Regions from separate parts of the Homo sapiens genome. Here regions 1 and 3 are each linked to region 2. The links are contacts of gene promoters, found by promoter capture Hi-C in human tissues and cell types (Jung and others, 2019). All regions are on one chromosome and are shown on one strand. Each heading gives the region's core, a stretch centred on a gene start or on the middle of the fragment in contact. The rest is flanking DNA. Distances are from core to core; before and after follow the strand shown.

Region 1 (3,318 bases), core at 259-2,758, 58 kb after region 2:
TGTCATCCAGGCTGGAGTGTAGTGGTACATTAGACAATTTTGATATATGTATACAAGTAGTTAAAAAATTGGTTGGGACCTGTGCTTTTTTTTTTTTTTCTTTCTTGATGGAGTCTCACTCTGTCACCCAGGCTGGAGTGCAGTGGTGTAATCTTGGCTCATTGCAACCTCCACCTCCTGGGTCCAAGTGATTCTCCTGCCTCAGCCTCCCAAGTAAGTGGGATTACAGGCGAGCGCCACCATGCTCAGCTAATTTTTGTATTTTGAGTAGGGACGAGGTTTTGCCATGTTACCCAGCCTGGTCTCAAACTCCTGATCTCAAGTGATCTGCCCACCTCGGCCTCCCCAAATGCCGGGATTACAGGTGTGAGCCACCACTTTCGCCGGACCTGGGTTTTTTAATGGGCCTTGGTCTCCATTTTCACATTTCTTCTTCCTGGGTCATCCAGAGTGTTAGGATTTACTGAGATTCTCTTAAGAAAAACAGCAGCCTTGGATACCCAATTCATATGAAAGCAGGTTTGATTTCGGTTTAAAATGGAAACTGTGAGCTAATGCATTTTACAGATTTGAGGAGAGAACAATTTTCTCTGTTTTTAAGAAAATAAAGAACAAAACGTGGGATAACTTTTTGTGAGTCACCATAGTGCCACAAGCTCCTGAAAGGGGTTCTCTGCAAATATTTGGGGTTTGGTGCTTATAAACAGCTACAAAGGTTTTCTTGAGCGTTGGTAACCACGGCAACAAGGACGTCACTTCCACGGTGCAAACATGCTTGCCAAGCTGAAGTGTGGAGTGACAGTTTTTGGCTGAGCCATGAACCTAAAAGTGGAGGTTTACAAAGTTACTGCAGACAGGTCATTAGCACGACTGGCTGCAGTGAGCTCCCTAAGTCTTCATCGCTCCTGCCTTTTCATCAGCAGCGAGATAATTGACTGTTAGACTCCCGAGCCACAGACCACGGCAGAGGTGAGTCCGCTTCTAACTGTTTCTGCAGAGTGAGGTACAGTTGTCAGAAGTTCCCAAACAATGTGAGTTTGGTAAGAGGAGACTGGAAATGGAGTTTTCACCAGTAAAGCGACGCGTGGCGATTGTGTATCTACAGGGTGGAGAGCGCAGCGCTTAGCCCTGTGTCGACAGCCCTGTGGGCTGAGGCCACAGTCTGAATTTGCTGTGCCCAGCTGTGTTTTTTCATCAGGACAGGGTGTGGGAGCGGGGGCAGGCAGAGCTTCAAGCTATGGACTCGGCAATGGAACGTGTTACCTCCGTGGTCAGCACAGTTTTAGTTTTGGGTGATAGAAACCCAATTCAGGTTGCCTTAAGCAAGAAGGGAATGTACTGGCTTAGGTAAGAGAGGAGTCCAGGGGTAAAACCTGGCCCCAGAAATGACTGGATTCCTAGATTTGGTCTCTCCCTTTTCTCTGCATCACCACTGAATCTCTCGCCCCCTTCCTCTCTAGTGCTTTCTCCTCCACTGGCTGTATTCTCAGGTTCTCCAAGTATGGTTTCCAGAAGCATCGGTCCTAAAGCCACCGGTTTAAAGACCCCACCAGGTAGAGAGCTCTTCTTCCCAGAAGATTTTGCAAAATCTCTGGATTGATTCCCGTTGGTCTATCTTGGGTCACGTGGTCAGCCCTGTACCAGTCACTGTGGACAAGGCCATGGACTATTCTGATTGGACAAGCCCATGTCACCTGATCATTCCCAGACTTCAGGGAGAGGTTGAAAGTGAGACCCACAGGAACCAAAGGATGTGGGGGGACTCCCCAGTGGGAATTTGAAATGCATTCACCGGCAGGAGTACTGGGTGCTCGGGAAGTAAAACCGCAAATGCCCACCCCTCTAACCAAGTAACTGGATGTAGGGAGAGTTAGTAGCTCAAGTTCGAATCAGCTTCCTTAGCGGGCTGTTGAAGAGCCTCTGTTGGGAGAGTGATGTCAGCAACATGGCAGAAGAGAAGCTCCTGACTCTCCCTCCACTCGTGGACACACCAAATAAACATCCATTCACCAATCACTTCCCTCTGAGAGAGTCAGAGACCAGTTGAGATTCCTACCCACCTGGTAACTGAGAAAACATCCCCATGTAACGGGTCGGAAAAGCTGAGACTCTCTTGGGCACGCCCCCACCTCGGGCGCTGAGCCACAAAATTGGGAAAGGAATCTCTAGCACCCAGCATCTCCCCATGGAGAGGAGGCTTTGGGCCTCACAAGGCCCGCCCTAACTCTAAGGTGCCCCACGGTTGGCTCTTAATTCACCAACTCTGGGGCTGAGGGAATTAGACACACTCAAGTCTCTGTTCTGCTTTGGCTCTATTTTATTTATTTATTTATTTTAGTGGAGACGGGGTTTCACCATGTTGGCCAGGCTGGTCTGGAACTCCTGACCTCAAGTGATCCGCCCACCTCAGCCTCCCAAACTGCTGGGATTACAGGCGTGAGCCACCACACCCGGCCTGCCTTGGCTCTTTTAAATGAACCTCAAGCGACCACCAGCTAGCAACGTGCCTTCTGCCTCTGGGATTGCTCCAGGCCATGTCTGTGTAGTAGAAGGAGGTGATGTTTCCCATTCCCCTCTTGTAGCTCCTTGTTCAAGCTCATCCTGTTAGATCAAAGACAATATTTGGACCTCAAGCCCCGGCCTCCATAGAGCCATGGTGTGTGTATGTACGTGGGACACTGTCTCGCTTTTATTTATGTTCAGTCTCTGCCTCTCTCACTAGATTATAACTTCCAGGAGGGCGGGGGTCATCTCGGCCTTGCTCACCACAGTGCATAGCTTGGAGGATGTAGTGGACAGTCAGTAAATGTTTGTTGAAAGAACAAATTACAGGACAATGGGGAGTCATTGAGGGATGTGAAGTGTGACAGGGTAACTTGCCCAACATTCCCCAGATAATAAAAGACACTATCAGTGGATCACCTGAGGTCAGGAGTTCAAGATCAGCCTGGGCAACATGGTGAAACCCCATCTCTACTAAAAATACAAAACATTAGCCGGGCATGGTGGCGGGCGCCTGTGTAATCCCAGCTACTCGGGAGGCCAAGGCTCAAGAATCACTTGAACCGGCGAGGGGGAGGTTGCAGTGAGCCAAGATAGCGCCATTGCACTCCAGCTTGGGAGACAAAGTGAGACTCCGTCTGAAAAAAACACACTATCCTCCCTGAATCCCACGTCTTCTGACTCCCAATGTCCCACTTTCTGCCCCCTGCCCAGCAGTGGGGTTCTCTGAGTAAGAAGAGGGGGAGGGTGGCACATACTAACACAGAATGGATGCTTGTATGCAGACCAGGCTGTAAATTACATAGCAATGACAGC
Region 2 (3,369 bases), core at 228-2,727:
AGCAGGACCCTGGGACTCCTGGTGCCCAGCTCAGAGCTGTCCTACTGCTTCTGGCCACGGAGAGAGAATTGCAGAAAAGGAACAATGCTGGGTCTAAAACTGGTATCTGTTCCTTACTTGGAGTAAACGAGCTGGTACCCAACTTTCAGTTCCCAGCAGGTTCATTTCAGGCTTCTGTTTTCGCTCATGAGCATGTTGTTCCCTCTTCAAAGTCTGATTGGGTTTCAAAGGAATCTGAAACACTTACAGCAAAACCACCAAGCTGCATCCTCCAGGTAGACACCCCCGAAATGTGGCATTTCCGTGGGAAACCACAATGAATCACTCATTGGCTGCCCGACCTCTCTGCCCAGTCAGAGATTGATTTTGGTTTTCCCAAACTTTGTAAATCCGCTCCAGACTGTTTAACAACCCCCACTCCCCACTACACCCAGACTCTCAGATTAGGAGCAAAATCCCAAATTTTGTGAGGTTTTCTGTTTCGGATTTCACCAGAAGGGGGTCTGCCACAGCCACTAACCATTTCCTCTGCAGAGAGCCGTTTCTGAAATGCTGCAAAGAAAAACAATCACCCAATGATTAGGAGGGAAATTAAGTTCTAAAGAAAGACTACTGTCTCTGACTTTGAAAGTAGACATAGATATGCACAATATACATCCCACAAATTAAAATCCTCCTTTCTCTGATGTCTTTTAATGGTAATAATAAGGACAAGCATGGCTATCATTTATTTGGGCGTTTCCAATGTGCCAGTCCCTGTCTAAACATTCAGCTTCCAGATCAAACCTATGAGGGTGGAATTAACATCCATTTCATAAATGGAAACTGAGGCTCAGGAAAGTTGAGCGAGTTACTCAAGGTAACATGAGTAGAAAAAAGGCCATATTCCAACCGGACACAGAGCCTGCAGCCCACACAATTACTCTCCATACTGTTCCTATACTATCCTGACTGGGAAGGTCCTGTTCCCTTGGCACTGGGCAAAAATAAAATTATAAGAGCAGAGAGGAAGTGGTGAAAGGGGGCAGCCTGGTGAAATCATTCCTTTACTGAAAATAGGGGTAACGGCCAGGACAGTGCAGGTCCATCCTCTGCAGATGGAAGACAGGCACGTCCTTTGCCGCTGTCCCGGCCTTAGAAAGGCACCTTCCGCGTCCAGGGTTTTCTGTGGATAAATCCCACCCCTTCCACCTCAGGCGGGGAGGAGGCCGGCCGGCCGGGGCATGGGGCGGAAGGCGAAGGACGCCCGACCCCGGCCGAGGTCTGGGGCCCCTCCCACGCCCCCCTCGTGGCTGCCGGCGGGCCAAGGGTTAAGCGAGGCGGGAGCCCCCGGCGCGGAGCGGCTCGGGGCCGGGAATGCTTAGTCAGGATTCCGATTTCCTGTCGAAGTGTTTGGATTTCCTGAAACCCGCGCCCTCCGCCGCCGAGCGGGATCGTGCGAGCCGCTCGCGTCGCCGCGGCCTCCTCCCCCTCGGCACATGGTCGCCCGCCCCTTCCTGCGCCGCGCTCGGCTCCCGCGCCTCGCCTGGCCTGGCCGCTGCCGCGGGCGAGCACTGTGCGCTGGGCAGCCCCGGGCCCGCGCCTCCCGCCCAGCCGGCGCTTCCCGGTCGCAGTTCGCTTTCCCACCCGAGAGCCGCGAGCGCCCGGCCGAACCCGCGATGGAATAATGCCCAGCGGCCCGCCAGGTCCCGGTGAGTTGCGGGGCGCTCGGGCGCGCTCGGCGGGGCCGGGCGGAGTCGCCCACAGTCGCGGGCGCCCCCTGCCCAGTCTCTCGCGCGAAGAAGGGCGCCGGGACGGGGCGCGGGGCGGGCTCCCGGCTCCTCTCGCAGCGGGGTGTCCTTCTCCGCGGGGAGGGCGCCGGCCCTGGGCTGGGGCGTGTGCGGGACGCGCGGCCAGGCTCTGCGGGGCCGGGCGAGGCCGCCCGGTGGGGGGGGGAGGTCTCCTCGCCTCCAGCTCGGGAGAGGGGGCCCCTGCAGTGGGGCCGGGGACGGGGCCCGCCCTGGGGGGTTTCGCGTCCCCCTCCGGGGGAGGGCCCGGGACGACGTGCTTGGCGGCCCGGACCCCGCCGATGGGGCGCCCTCCCGGCATTGTCTCTGGTGCAGCCGAGGAAAGTTCCCCGCGGCCCCCGGCCCCTACCCGGACCCGGCGCTGCTTGGCAGGCCCCAGGCCACTTGCCTAAAGCAAAAGAAGAGAAACGAAAGGGAAGGGGGTGGGGGGAGTCCTACTTGGAGCTTGGGGTTGGCTCCTGGGCGGACCGTGAAGTGGCTTGTGTTTTCTGCTTGTACCATTTTGGGACCTGCTGCGTTTTCTGAGAGCGACATGAAGTTTCAAAGAAAAAAGAAACTTGCCGGTGTCCGGTTTTCTGCGGTTTGATACATCCCAAGAGGTTCATCTTGGGCACTTCTAAAGCAGTTTCCTTTAATAATGTGGTTTTCCAGTAGCTCAGGGAGAAGGATGGTCAACTGCAGACCATCATCGTTAACTTGACCTCAACTTTACCTGTACTCGTCAGGAAAGCAAAAGAACTTTCTCTCGCATTTTCCCCTGTCTACTCTGTTAGGTTATCTTGGCGTGATTGATTCTGGGATGACATCAGGACCTGGATTGCTGAGTAATGTTTTGGGATTGTAAAAGCTTATCAGTTTTTAGGCCAGGGTTATCTGTATTGCAACCTTCATCCCAAAGCCTTTCTGTTTTGCAATTGTAGCGCGGCCAGATAGCTTTAAGAAAATGCGGGTCTTCTGGAAACACCCAGTGAACAGTTTGGAAAGAAAAAGATCTTTGAGAACAACTGATTCACCCCCTTCAGAGAAGGCCCAGAAAGGTGACCTGACTTGCCCAAGATCACATGGCCAGGAGTAGTTTCCACTTCTTCAGGCTCAGTCCCATGCCCCTTCTGTGTTAGATTTTGATCTGTTAGCCATGAAACAGATTTGGAAACGTCTTCTTTGCGTCACAGCCTTCACCACTTTAGTGCCTTCTCTTCTGTCCTGTTAATGCTGCTATTTTTGAGATATGCACTTATTTCAAACTGCATATTTTGAGATAGGGAGTTAAAAAAAACAAAAATCACCTAACGCCACTAAGTGGATTTGGAGATTCAGCTACCAAATGGATTTGAAGTATAAAATGAGTGGCTTATTATACGGGGAATTACTTTCCCTATCCCATTCTTTTGTGCAAAATAGAAACTCCCAGGTCCAAAAAAGGGCAGTATCTTAGCACATAATGTACCCTCTGATGTTCTCTAGACTTGATTTTCAGCCCTCCTGTTTCTTGTGAGCTAAGCAGCCCATCTATTTTTCTCATGAGAGCTCTGAATGGCTGGTTTTTCATTTTTAGTATGTGATAATGTTGGAGAGAAAGGAC
Region 3 (3,277 bases), core at 734-3,233, 40 kb after region 2:
TTGTGAGTTATGATTTTTTCATCTATAAATCTGGCCCAGTGTCTCCCTTGCAGGATTGTTGTGTGAGTCCAACTGGCACCAAGGAGGTGGGAATTCTGCAAGAACAGCTGTCAGTGGTCATCATACTTGTGCTGTCTATGTGCATGGCTTTATTGATACTCGGTGTTCATAAATTAATATTCCCATGTGAATTAGGCAGTTTTTTCTGAGTAGCAAAAACCTCAGGATTTCAGAGGCTTGTTTGACAGCAGATATGTATCTTCATGCTCAAGGATCTATGGGTTGGTTGTGGTTTGGCTGATCTAGTTGCATGGCTGGTTCATGCCGGACTTGTGGTTGATTGGGATCTGCTCCACATGTCTTTGATCTGAGTTCAGACTAAAAGGCAGCAACAGACAGCGGCTATGGAGACATATTCCTTTTGTGGTGCATCATAAGAGGGCAAGAGGAATAGACTTGGGAACAGCACACTGTCACTTCTAGCCACATTCCATTGGCTACAGCAAGTCAGTGATCCAGTCCAGAATCCAGTGGGACAGGGAAGTAAACACCATTCACTCTAGTGGGAAGTACTACAAAGTCCCATGACAAAGGGCAGAAATGTGTAGTTCACAGTCATGTTGGAAGTGAACTGGGAAGACTCATGCAGTCTACCATACTAACTCAGCTGCTCCACTTGGGTGAAGCAAGGAAAGCAAAAGAATAATAAACTGAGGAGCAGGCTGGGAGAGGCATTGACTATGTATGCAAGTAACAGATACTTATTTTTCATAAGCGTGTGCTTAGTAAAGTTGGGTTCTGGAGGTCAATATTATAGGAAGATCATGATCTTTGATTCTGAAGGATAGCATATGTTTATCCTTATGCCAGTACCACACTGTCCTGATTTCTTTCAAAGTCAGGAAATAGAAGTCCAACATTGTTCTTCATTTTCAAGATTGTTTTGGCTATCCTGAGTCCATTGCATTTCCATATGCATTTTAAGATAAGCTTGTCAGTTCCCCATCTAATTTAAATTTGTGATTCAGTGCTCAGGAAGATTCAATTGCTGTTGGCATCTAAGTTTGAAGGAAATGGTTTGATCGTTTATCCAACAAATATTTATTAATATTGTTGTGCCGGGCATTGTAGAGTTGGTGCTGCAACATACACCAATAAACAAATCCAAACACAATCTTTGTATCCACATGGCTTACAATTGAAGAAAATTAGCAGATATTAATCAGTCTTCACGTTGAAACATAATTAAAAACTGAGATAAATTCCATGATCTAATCTGAAGATGCAGAGTTTCTCTGAGAATATAATATTTAAGGAAGTACAGGAGTTACCTAGGCACTGAAGATGAGAGAGGAAGCCTTCCAGACAGAGAGAACAACATGGGCAAAGGACCTGTGGTGGAACAACTGCAGCATGTTCCAGGATCTAAGAAAATGTCCAATGGGCCGGGCACAGAGGCTCACACCTGTAATCCCAGCACTTTGGGAGGCCAAGGTGGGCAGATCACCTGAGGTCAGGAGTTCGAGACCAGCCTGCTCGACATGGCGAAACCCTGTCTCTACTAAAAATGCAAAAAAGTAGCTGGGCGTGGTGGCGGACACCTGTAATCCCAGCTACTTGGGAGGCTGAGGGAGGAGAATCAATTGAACCCAGGAGGTGGAGGTTGCAATGAGCCAAGATCGCGCCACTGCACTCCAGTCTGGGCAACGAGTGAAACTGTCTCACAAAAAAAAAAAAAAAAAGAAAAAGAAAAAGAAAATGTCTTATGGCTACAGCATTGTGCCTGGTAGACAGGATAAGGTCAGAGAGGTGAACAAGAGTCAGAACATGTTCAGTGATTTGGATTTTTATTCTAAAGCACTGAGAAGCTGTTGAGGGATGTTAAGCTAGTGGTGGAGAGTTGAGGGATGACACAATCAAATTTGTGTTTTCAAAATTGTATTCTTCATATCACTCAATTGTTAAGTGTCAGTCTTATTTGGATCTGGGTTTTTTAAAAAAAAACACTTGTTAAAGACACCATTTTTGACATTTATGAGACTATTAGGAATTTGAACACTGTGTGAATATTTGATGATATCAAGGAATTATTGCTATCTTTTTAAGGTATGGTAGTGGTTTTACAGTGTTATTTTTTTCCAAAGACCTTATCTTAGAAATCCATGCGGTAATATTTATGACTGAAATGATAAGATGACTGGAAATTTCCTCAAAATAATAATGCACGGGCAGGAAGGTTGAGGGTTTGGATGTGGTGGGTATGATTATGGGTTAATGTGATTAGACTGGCTGGTGGGTTCAGGGGGTATATGATACACTTCTCTGTTTTTATGTCTGTACACAATTCCCTGTAATAAAAGATTAAAAAAAAAAAAACCCCACAAAAGATTATTCTGCTTTCAGCATGGAAGACTAGATTTCAGAGGGAGAAATGGTGATGAGGGGAGATCAGTTAGGAGGCAGCTGCAGTGGCCCAGGTAAGAATGATGGAGGCTTGGTCCAGAGCTGGACCAGTGGAGGTGGGGAGAGATAAGTGGAGAGATCTTTAGGAAGTAAAGTAGACATGAATTGGGGATGGATTGGATATGGGGGTGAGGGAGATGGTGGAACTGAGATGTCTCTCGGTTTTTCGCCCTGGATGGAGATGCCACATTGAGCTAGGAATCACTGGATAAAAGCCAAGGAGGTCCCTTGGCTCAATTTATTTTTATATCCCCACCTCTGTTTCCCTCTATTCTGCAAATATTGAAGCTGTTCCCTTATGTAACATCTTTTATCCCAGACTTCCTGTGCTCTGTGCACTCAGCAATTAATTAAGCTTTGGTATGCATGAATTAATTAAAATCCTCTCCCAGGTTCAGAGGGGCTGTCCTGAAATATGTATATTCTTCTATATCTGCCTTCTTCCTGCAACTGGTTTCCTTTGCCGGGTGAACACTTTTGCTTTCTCGTGGGCACCCAGCTGCAGGTGTCTGTCTGTCTGTCTGTCGCATCCATCAGCACACTTTAATTTTATGTTTAGGAGCCTAGGTCTAGAGAAGTTAATGACTTGTAAATTGCTCTCCAACGTAGAGCTAGAAATAGAATGCCAGAAGGATTCCTGAGCACTTACTTGCACAGAGATTCAATGATGGAGGTATCAGCCCCACCATAGGAAGCTGAAATAGTAGTTTCCTTCATATTTCTGGACAGCCACTCTGTGGTGCAAGAACATTCCTGACAAAGGTGCAGCCTCCATATGAAATCCGATCTTGGTCTGAGACAATGTCTTCTGCCC

What was found. Contacts are between HindIII fragments. The study calls those that stand out against the background at their distance.
Region 1: a contact is called between a fragment that was not itself captured here and the fragment with the promoter of ASAP1 in region 2, in 1 of the 25 tissues and cell types used here (IMR-90 fibroblasts).
Region 3: a fragment that was not itself captured here is called in contact with the fragment with the promoter of ASAP1 in region 2 in 4 of the 25 tissues and cell types used here (IMR-90 fibroblasts, hippocampus, mesenchymal stem cells and 1 more).

Annotation. Positions count from the first base shown.
Region 1 is chr8:130,384,322-130,387,639 of GRCh38, reverse strand. The region is part of intron 2 of ASAP1 (ArfGAP with SH3 domain, ankyrin repeat and PH domain 1); the gene reads left to right. Among named protein-coding and RNA genes, the nearest start is that of ASAP1, 58 kb to the left of the region's middle. The HindIII fragment of the contact is 6,426 bases long and covers 1-3,318 here.
Region 2 is chr8:130,441,782-130,445,150 of GRCh38, reverse strand. ASAP1 (ArfGAP with SH3 domain, ankyrin repeat and PH domain 1) reads left to right here and starts at 1,477. Exons shown (of 30, transcript NM_018482.4): 1 at 1,477-1,691. RefSeq lists silencers at 1,393-1,492, 1,533-1,622, 1,633-1,792, 1,843-1,922. The HindIII fragment of the contact is 10,997 bases long and covers 1-3,007 here.
Region 3 is chr8:130,402,020-130,405,296 of GRCh38, reverse strand. The region is part of intron 1 of ASAP1 (ArfGAP with SH3 domain, ankyrin repeat and PH domain 1); the gene reads left to right. Among named protein-coding and RNA genes, the nearest start is that of ASAP1, 40 kb to the left of the region's middle. The HindIII fragment of the contact is 4,629 bases long and covers 1-3,277 here.